2 separate regions of the Homo sapiens genome follow, and region 2 is linked to region 1. The links are contacts of gene promoters, found by promoter capture Hi-C in blood cells and fetal thymus (Javierre and others, 2016). All regions are on one chromosome and are shown on one strand. Each heading gives the region's core, a stretch centred on a gene start or on the middle of the fragment in contact. The rest is flanking DNA. Distances are from core to core; before and after follow the strand shown.

Region 1 (5,075 bases), core at 867-3,366:
TTGCTCAATACGGGGTATCAGTTTTCCTCCCGGCACTTTCCGCCTTGTACCGAGATAACTGAATCAGTAACGCAGAACTCAGCTCATTCTATTGTTGGGGAATCCCAAAAACACCCCAAGGGAGAGAAAGACAAAGTGCTGCACAAAGAGACTCGCAGTCGGCGTCCGCCCTCGCTTGAACGCGTCCCCCTTGCGCCCGGGGGGCGCTGCGCTCCCTCCAGGAGAGGACGCTGCGTCTAAGTCTAAGAGCCTCCAGTGGAAAGTCCCGGAAGCCCTCCCCTGGGCTTGAGATTTTTGCTGGCTGAAATGGAGCCTGGAAGTGCTTTTCTGTGGTTTAGATGGGGAAGGAATGGGGGAAAGAAACGGTTCGGGAAAGGGGAGAATGGAGGGGAGAAGAGGGAAGGAAGATGGCAGGAGCCTCGGAGGTCAGGCTTGCAAGCAAAGCAAACACCAGGCTCCAGAGGGGTTTGCAGGCTACAGAACACCGAGTTTCGAGAGAATCACATGTTTATCTTCTCTTAAAATTCTCATACTGAACGATCTGGATGTGACTCAGCTCACGCAGTCGCTAGCTGTGGCACCGTGTGAGCTACTTAACCTCAGAAAGAGTTTCATCATCTGTAAAATGGGCATCACGGCCTTGTGGAATGGATTAAAAGAGCCAAAGTGCATAAAGCTCACGCAGTATCCTTTATAAGCAGTTTGTAGGTCTCCTTCCTTGAATTTCTTTCAAGCTCCCAATAGCCAACGGGAAGCCGAACACACTTTCACACTAAAAATGGGAATTCAGGGAAGTATCATCAGGTTCTGAACTATGTTTTAAGACTCAAGTCAAACACCAAAACTGAGTCACCACCTAATGTGTGTGCAGCACGTGTTAGGGGCAGTTTGCTATGTGATGACTTGAACGACAGTTTCTCTCTCCTGGGACTTTCATAAAATTCCTTTGGTGTTGCCACACACTTCTGGGATTCTCCACAATGAGCCCATTGCTGAGCCTGTCTCTGCAGATGTTTATTAAACAAGCAGAATTTAGGGGAATAGTCAGCAAGTCTTCACCAAGTTCTTCTATGTGGGCAGCTTTTGTGGTGTGGCCAGGGTATGAGGATAAAGAGCAACTTGGAAAAGTCTGGGGAGAATTTAAGTAGCCTGAAGAGTCTCTGTCCCTCAGGGAGGAAAGCTGAGAAATCGTTTCCATATTTATGTGTCAATTGCTTTATGTCCATTTATTTGATCTTCCTTACAAAATCTTGCATAGAAAATTTCATCCTCATTTTACAGATGAGGAAACTGAAGCTTAGAGAGCTTAGGTCACTTACCCAAGTTCATCCAGGTAGCAAAGTGTCAGGTCTGGATTTAAATCAGGTTGAGTCCAGTACCTTTTTCTTTTTTATATCACGCTGCCTTTCCCTAGAAGCCAAAATTTCTAGGAAATAAATGAACTGCAATGACAAAGCAGCACATTTTCCCATGTTCTTTGCTCTTGATCCCTACCTACTCTTTTCCCGGAAATAGACAATAAAGCCACCAGGATACCTGAGACAGCCTTGGTCATCTTTGTACCGTAGCCAGCACCATGGATTTTTGCCTAGTTACTTTCCCATCAGATTTTAACAGAAAGAACACTGTATTTGCCAGCTCAGTACAGCATATCTCTGGCTCTGTTTTCTCCCCAGCAGGAATCCGAGGGTCTGTCTCTGTATGTGTTATCATCAGACTGGTAAAGAGTTACATGTGTCAGCACAGAAGAAAAGAGCTTTGATGTGAGTTCAGCATGTAAGAAAGCCTTCATTGCTGTCATGCTTTCAACAGGTTCCCCACGACCCACCACTGCCTGCCAAGATGAATGTAAATGAAGCAGAAGTCTCACAGGGTAAATTCAGCTTCCCACGACCTGCAGTTGGACAGGGTGGCAAGGAGATGATGATAATTCCATGGCTCCCAGCTTAATTTCTCTTGGGGAGGGGTATGTGGACTCTTGCTATCCTGGAGTCCATATCATGCAGGACTCCGGAACATAAAAGGCAACAACAGTGAAGTGAGTGCCTGTTACAAACAAGGCTCAACTCAAAGCTAACAATTCTTCTTTATTAGGATACCACTGATCAGAGCTGCAAAGTGTACTCACATCTGTCATTTCGTGTCATTCTTACATAAATCCTGTAGCTGGGCACAGTAGGAAGAAGCATTCTCATCATGGCCACTTAGCTTGCTCGAGATTACACAGAACCATGCCTCTGGTTTCCTGGTACAGTGCTCCGGCAGGTGACGGATGCTCCTGGGTGACATATCACGGATCTCTCTGAGGTGAGATCTTCATGATTCTATATCATAGGCATCTCTTTATCTTCAAGTTGGGCAACATCAGCAGGGTTCCCATGAGTATGTGCCCAGCGAGGCTATTTAGTTCCTCTTATCTTTTTTTTTTTCTACTTGCCCTCGTTTTTCCTGAGATTTTATTTCCTTCCTAGCTGGCATACCTTTCCCTGCTGTGGTATTCAGACCTAAATAGTGTGTGCACCTATTACCTCTGCAGAGTAATTACTGTTTGGTACCATGGTAGAGTTTCTGTGTCCAGATACGGTTGTGAATGCTTGGAATGTAACATTGGGAAAGACAGAACTATTGCTTGTAAGTGGATTTGTGGACATCATGGTGCTATGAGAAAACTAAGTTGAAGATGCTCCTGCATCTTGCTGGTTAAACTAGATATAAACCAGTTGCTTAATAATTCATAGCCTATCCTATCTGTTTCCCACCCTCCTTATCTTCCAGGGACTCATTTATTGAATAACTCATTTTACATGCCTCTTTTATCATATACATTTTTATGTGTATTAGGATGTATTTATGGACTTTATATTCTATTTCACTGATTTGTCTATTCATTCATATTTCTTTGAGTATGATAGCTTTATGCATTTTTTCTTATCTGGTAGGTATTGTTGCCCCTCATTGCTTGACTTCTTCAGTATTTTCACAACTACTCTTACTTGTTTGATTTTCCATTTGAACCTCAGAACATAAAAAGAATCTTGTTGGTATTTGTATTGGAATTTTATCAAATTTGTAGATTAATTGAAGGATATTGGATAATTTTAGGATGCTGTCTTCCTAATCAAAATATAGTGTGTCTTTTTATTTGTTCAAACTTTTGGGGTTCCTTCAATTTCTGCTTGCCTATCAGACATGATTCTTATATTTATTCCTAGATATTTGATCTTGTTTTACTCAGGGTAAATGAGGCATTACCTTCCAGTACACCTTCTAACTGGCTGCCATCTGTATTTGTCATGGCTACTGATTTCTATATATTTATTCTTTTATTGTTGAAGAATGTTTTGTAGTTCGTTCTTTCAGGTTTTTCACACGTGAATTTATTTGCCAACATAAATGATACTTACCATATTCTGTTAATGTATTACTTTCAAATATTCTAATTTGTTTGTCTTTCCTAATTAGAGCTAGTATCTCTAGAACAATATTCAATAATAGTAGTGACAGTGTCATTTTTCCTGTCCTTACTTCAGCATAAATGCTTCTAAATACTTTGTTAGTAGGCATGATGAGCTCAGATAAAAAGCTTTTTTTTAAATATTAAAACAGTATTCCTTTATTTCTACTTATTAAATTTTAAAATCAAGAAAACATTCTTGCCCTTTAAAATATTTTATATTTGTATATGTTTTATCATGAAAATTTTAGTAGGGTATTAATACGTATAATTTATAAATAAATAAATATAAATATATTAGGGGATGACAATTTTTACAACCGATTCAAGCATAAAATAAGAAAGTTTGGAGAGCATGGGTTTAGAGGATTATAATAAATTTTTAAAATTAAAATATCATTGTTTACCACAATACAATTTAATCCTTTTTGATAATGCTGAAGATACTTCAGGATCTCGAATGCTTTAGGATCAGCATTAGGGATACTGTTTATCTTATCAGTTGGTTGAAGGTTGGTTAACTAAGAATAAATCACTGGAAGTTCACCTGTTTGCCTCTGAAAAAGTCTGATCTTTATTGCCCTCTGAATGTCTTCTTCTATGCCAGACAGTTCCAATAAAGCAACTATAACTAGGCTCCCCTAGCCCTCCTGATCTCCCCATCATGTAGGAACCTAATATGTCCAAGATAGTGGTAGAGGGTGAGCCTATGTGGCCTGTGCCCAGCCTCTCTGCATCATCCTCACACAAGTTTAGTGTCACGGCTGAAGGATGCTCTTCTCAGCAGAAGTGGGATAAGAGCTGACACATCTACAGGCAGAGCAGTCAAAGGGTGGGAAGAAACCTGACCTCCTAAAGACCCACTGCCTTGCCTCAGCACAGTGGTGACTTCCTGTCGAGGACACTGCTAGAAGTCTTTCTGAGTAGATGATTCTGAAAAGTAAAGAAACACTAATATTCTTTGTAGTTACAAAATAGGAAAAGCTAGCTGGGGGGATAAACGTCAACAGATTCTTTTAATAGGATGCCTAGCTTTCTGCAAATTTTTACTGAACCAAGACATGTGTTCTTGGTTGATTAATACATGCAGTGCAAAAACTCAAAACAATATGCTGATATATTCCGTAAAGATAATTCCCAGGCTAACTGTGGTTTGTTTTACATTGTCAACAAGAGCAGGAGGTTGGGGGAGGAATCTCATGAATTCCTGGACATGGAAAGTTTGGATTCCCATGAAATGACTGATCTGAAATCTAGAGTAAATTTGATCTCAAATTTTCTCTCTTAATTATATAGTGAATATTGCAAATTCAATTCAACTTTAAAAGTATTTATTGAGCCCTATGAAAACACAGAAGCAAGATCAGATGTAGTCTTTTAATCTATGCGGAGAATGAATGTGTGTCCACATGGAGTAGATAACAATTCAAAAAATATAGAATTGGATAACAATGTAAGAAACATAGATGGTGTTGTGAAAGGTCAGAGAACTCATGACTGATTGTTGGGATTGTATCACTAGGAGTTTCTTTAAGTATAGCAGAGCAAGAGAGGTAGAAGGACACATGACTTTCATCCCCCTTCCAACAACAATGTTCTGAGACCATAGGCTTAATCTAGT
Region 2 (5,075 bases), core at 1,238-3,737, 250 kb before region 1:
TGTTATTTAAGAGTTCTCTAACTTTCTGACAAATTTTTATGGTAATTAGTAAACAACATACTCATTCTGGCCAAATGGGTCTGCAGCCCCTGACAAGAGAGGTCATCTAAAATGGCATGGTTTAGACTTGCCCGTTACAAAACATGAAGACTACCTAAAAACTCAACCTAGATCTGGAAGAATGCTTAAATTTCAATTCTAAGCAAAGGAGATGACCTTATGGTTAAAACTGAGCTTTGTTTCTAGCTCCACCACGCAAGCTTCATGAATTTGTGCTAACGCTTATATAGCAGTTGAGCCTCAGCTTCTTCATCTATAAAATAGGAATAATATTACCCCTCACAGATGTTAGGAGGATGTGATGAGAATTTCCACATCCTGGCAGACTTTTAAATCTTTTTTATGGCGTTGATATTTGTAAACAAACACCTGTCTTCTAAATCGTACTTATTTTTAACTTCCTCTGTTTCCTGAAGAGGATAAACAAGGTGAATTTTGGAGGATGGTGGTCATTGTTATTTTTGTCTATGGAAGAAAGCATTTGTCAGTACTTTCCCCTAAATGGGTTGAGCTCCTCGGAAAGAAGAAACCATACTTTGTGCACTTTTTTTTTACATTATCAAACATTTTTGTGCATACTAAATGCTCAGAATGTTTTAACATGGACTGGATTAGTCAACTTCACCTCAATCTGCCTTCCATACTTAGGCATATGCCACCTGCTGTAGGTAAGCTTAGTGGTTATTTGGCAACTGTGGGATCCTAAATATCAGTGGTTGCTTTTTCTGCCCTTGGCATCAAAATAATCAAACTATGAAGGAATATGATCATTAAAAACCCTCTGGTAAAATAACTTTGGGGGATGGTGAGGGTAGGCTACCTTATGGATTTGGGTTCTCCTTTTTTTTTTTTTTTTTTGAGATGGAGTCTTGCTCTGTCACCTAGGCTAGAGTGCAGTGGCACAATCTCGGCTCACTACAACCTCTGCCTCCCAGGTTCAAGCGATTCTCCTGCCTCAGCCTTACGAGTAGCTGGGATTATAGGCACCTGCCACCACACCTGGCTAGTTATTGTATTTTTAGTAGAGATGGGATTTCACCTTGTTAGTCAGGCTGATCTCAAACTCCTGACCTCAGGCAATCCACCCACCTCAGCCTCCCAAAGTGCTGGGATTACAGGTGTGAGCCACTGCACCTGGCCTGTGTTATTTTTAAAACTTCAGTATACTGATTTGATCTAATGCATTTTCCTAAGTATCTGCTTATAAGTCCTACCAGAATTGGGTTTACAGGCCTGTATAATGTGTGTTTATCTCCAAGAGGGATGTTTATATTATTTAGAGAGGACAGGGCAGTTTTTCCTGGGAAGACTGAAGGTTTTCTGTGTGTTGGGGGGTATAAACATGTTTAGCATCTATACTGAATGCTGCCAGTGCTCATGCAATAGCCTTGGGGTGGGTATTCTTATCTCTGATTTTATAGAGGAGGCATCTCAGGTTCAGAGAGGTCAACCACATTTACCAAAGTGAGGGTGCTCCGGGATTGGAAACCAGGTCTACTGGCTTTAGAGTCCAGAGAGCTATGTACTTACCCACCCTATCACACCGCTGTGAAGAATAAATAGTCCCACCCAGAGAAGAGGAAAGAGAGAGAAGGGTGGATATCAGGAAGGAATACAGAAATGGTTCAGCGTGGCTGTACTAGGGAGTTACTGAAGGGCAGAGACGGATGTAGGAGTGGAGTTGAAGTTTAAAGACCTGGGCAAGATTGTGAAGGGCCTTTCAGATCAGGTAGAGGGGCTTGACATTTAGATATTAAGGTTACACGGACGATTCTTAGAAAAACACAACAGCTATGCGGCCAATTCTAATACTTTAGTATAGTTTCCCAAAGTATGAATTTTTATTTTTATTTTTTATTTTTTAAGGGATGGGGGTGGGGTCTCAAACTCCTGGGCTCAAGCAGTCCTCCCACCTCAGCCTCCCAAGTTGCTAGGGCTATGGACATGCACCACTCCACCTGGCTCGCTTTTTATTTTCGATTAGAGTCACCTGGAGTGCTGTGTGGCCGCCCCCCACCCGCCCCCACATTGCATAGTGAATTTATTTATTTTTTATTATACTTTAAGTTCTAGGGTACGTGGGCACAACGTGCAGGTTCATTACATATGTATACATGTGCCATGCTGGTGTGCTGCACCCATTAACTCATCTTTTATGTTAGGTATATCTCCTAATGCTATCCCTCCCACCCTGCATAGTGAATTTAAATCTGTATTTCTACCAGGTCTCTCAGATAATTCTAATGCATACTGAAGCCTGAGATCAGTGTTAAGTGTTTCCTAATGAGTAGCAGAATTATGGATTTCTCCTGCTGTTTTTATACCTTCCTGACTAAGAAAGCTTTCTGCACAGACAGAGCTGAAATTATGTTGTTGTACTGTGTTGTTTCCCTGGGAGGAAGGTGGAGCTTGTATTGGGAAGGAAAGATCTTGGCAATAGATTGAAAGTGTGCTCTTCTTCCATATTAAAGTAAATGTTATCTCTCAAATTAGAGACCCATTCTCAAGCTTGGATCTTCTTTCAAAACTATGTCATTTTGCTTCACAAACTTTGTACTTGTTCTTTCCTTTTAAATACTTTTGTGAAGGAACACAATAGTTTTAGACATAGCTGATGATTGCAGTCTTCTTTCATTTCATTAGGGAAATGTTTAAGAATGATTATGAGACTTCATAATGTTCCCTGTTCTTTCATCAGCTTTTGAATACAGAGAAAAGAAACTCAGGACTAAATTGTATAAATCAGCAGATCGTACCTTCTATCAAAATATAATCCTTAAAATTATACATGACTGTTGTCCAAATACACAATGAATACATAATAAAATTTATTCAACTTCTTAATGAGGAAACCGGAGATGGCAAAAGGCTGTTTCAAAGCAGAATTGGAGAAATAGGAGTTATGTAGTCCACCAGGAAGGGCATTTTGAAATGAGTATGCTGAGTAATGTGCGCCCTTAGTAGTAAATGGCAACGCCAAACAAATATAGATCAGTGAGTCTCAGACTTGAGTCTCAGGATCCCCTTTGGCTCTTAAAAATTGAGGCCTCCAAATGATCTGCCAATATTTATCTTATTAGAAATTAAAACAAAAATGTTAAAACATTAAAAAATAAGCTCATTATATGTTAACTTTTAAAAATTACATATATTAAAAGTATGTAATATGCCATTTTATATAGTGAAATGATACTATAGTCAAGCAAATTAACATATTCATCATCTCACATGGTTACCCCCTCCTTTTTTTTTTTGTACTAAGTGCATCTAAAAGCTGTCTTAGCAGATTTCCAATACACAATACAATATTATTAACTGTAGTCCTCATGCTGTGCGTTAGATCTCTAGACTTACCCTTTGACCTACATCTTCCCATTTCCCCTGCTCCTGGTAACCACCATTCTACTCTCTGTTACTGTGTATTTGATTTTTTTTCCTCTTTCTTTCTGTTACTTTTAGATTCCACACATAAGTGAGATCATGCAGTATTTTTCTGTGTTTGACTCATTTCACTTACCATAACGTCCTCTAGGTTCCTTGTCACAAACGGCAGGATCTCCTTTTTTAAGGCTGAATAATAGTTCATTGTGTGTTTGTATATATATATATACACACACACTATATATACACACACAATCTGCTAGGATTCAATGCATAAAGAAATATATACATTTCTTCAGCAATTTGCCTAGAAGCCTTCTTGATAGGCATGTTAAGCAATGTCCCTGTATGACTTTGAAAGGACATGATCTACTGCCTTTTCCTTTATTTTTAAGTTTTAGATATTTTTTCAAAGCTCATTTCATGCACCTTTACCAGAAACAGATTGGGTCAGACAGACCAAATAAATTCCATGTGTAAACAGTAGAAATTGAGACTGTACTATAAACCCCTTTCTTTAAGCAATCCCCCTCAAACAAACAAAAGCCCCCTTTTTTAATTCAATCTGAAAAATGCACAAGAAAATCTGAAAGTATAAAGACATTCACCCTTAAGATTTTGATGTACTCATCAGAGATAAACACTGATGCCATTTTCCCCCTTCTCATCTGTTACTTGTGTTAGTGTGTACAAGGAAGTAGTCCTCTGTATTTGTGGGTTCTGCATCCATGGATTCGGCCAGCCTGGGGTGGAAAATTGAAAAGAGTGGATGGTTGCATCTGTACTGAGCATGTACAATACAGACTTGTTTTCCTTGTCATTATTCCCTAAACAACTAGTTTTATAGCGCTGACGTTGTATTAGTTATAAGTAATCTAGAGATGATTTGAATCATATGGGAGGATATGTGTAGCTTCTATGCCAATACCAGGCCATTTTCTGTAAGGGACTTGAGCATTGTGGATTTTGGTATCCACAGGGATCCTGGAACTGATCGCCCATGGATACTGGGGGATGACTGTATTTGAAAGTTTGGTTACTGGGCTGTACATACCCTGGCCTTACCCCCTAGAGATTCTAATTCAGTTGATCTGTGTGCAGGCATCAGTACTTTCAAAAGTTCCCCAGATGATTCTGTTGTGCGGCTAGGACTGAGAACCACTACCTAATCTAACCCCACCTTCAACTCTTCCATGGCCTCCCACACCTGTCTTTTGTGTTCTCTATAATCCACGGTCTGTTATTAGCAATTTGCCAAAACACTTTTTCTCTGTGTGTGCTTTCTCTTCATTTTTCACTTTAACTGAAACCCTGGTGTCTTCTATTCCCCTAGTAGAATGTCTCCCCTGCAGCCCTCTCAAGGCTGACTTGCTCCCTCCCTAGCTACTGCCGGTCCTAACAGAGGTGATGTTCCTGTGCTCCATTGCACCCTTTCAAGTCTTTTTTCTATTAAACAACAAATAAAACAGCTTCTTTAAAGTTATCAGACTTTTCCACTTGTCACCCCAACTTACTGTGGGCAATCTTACTGACCTCCCTACCACCCCTCCTCCTTCGTTGATAACTCTGGCACCTGGCTTCCAGCCTTTTTCTCTTGTTCCTTCTGTGGTCATTCTTGGATCCTTAATGCCACA

What was found. Contacts are between HindIII fragments. The CHiCAGO score rates a contact against its expected background, and 5 or more counts as called.
Region 2: a fragment that was not itself captured here is called in contact with the fragment with the promoter of RMDN2-AS1 in region 1 in 1 of 17 cell types (M0 macrophages); the score reaches 5.2 in M0 macrophages.

Annotation. Positions count from the first base shown.
Region 1 is chr2:38,033,382-38,038,456 of GRCh38, reverse strand. It overlaps RMDN2-AS1 (RMDN2 antisense RNA 1), which reads left to right and starts at 2,116. Exons shown (of 4, transcript NR_102712.1): 1 at 2,116-2,307. It also overlaps a transcript of RMDN2 not described here. The HindIII fragment of the contact is 2,287 bases long and covers 1,299-3,585 here.
Region 2 is chr2:38,287,039-38,292,113 of GRCh38, reverse strand. No RefSeq gene overlaps it. Among named protein-coding and RNA genes, the nearest start is that of ATL2, 88 kb to the left of the region's middle. The HindIII fragment of the contact is 167 bases long and covers 2,404-2,570 here.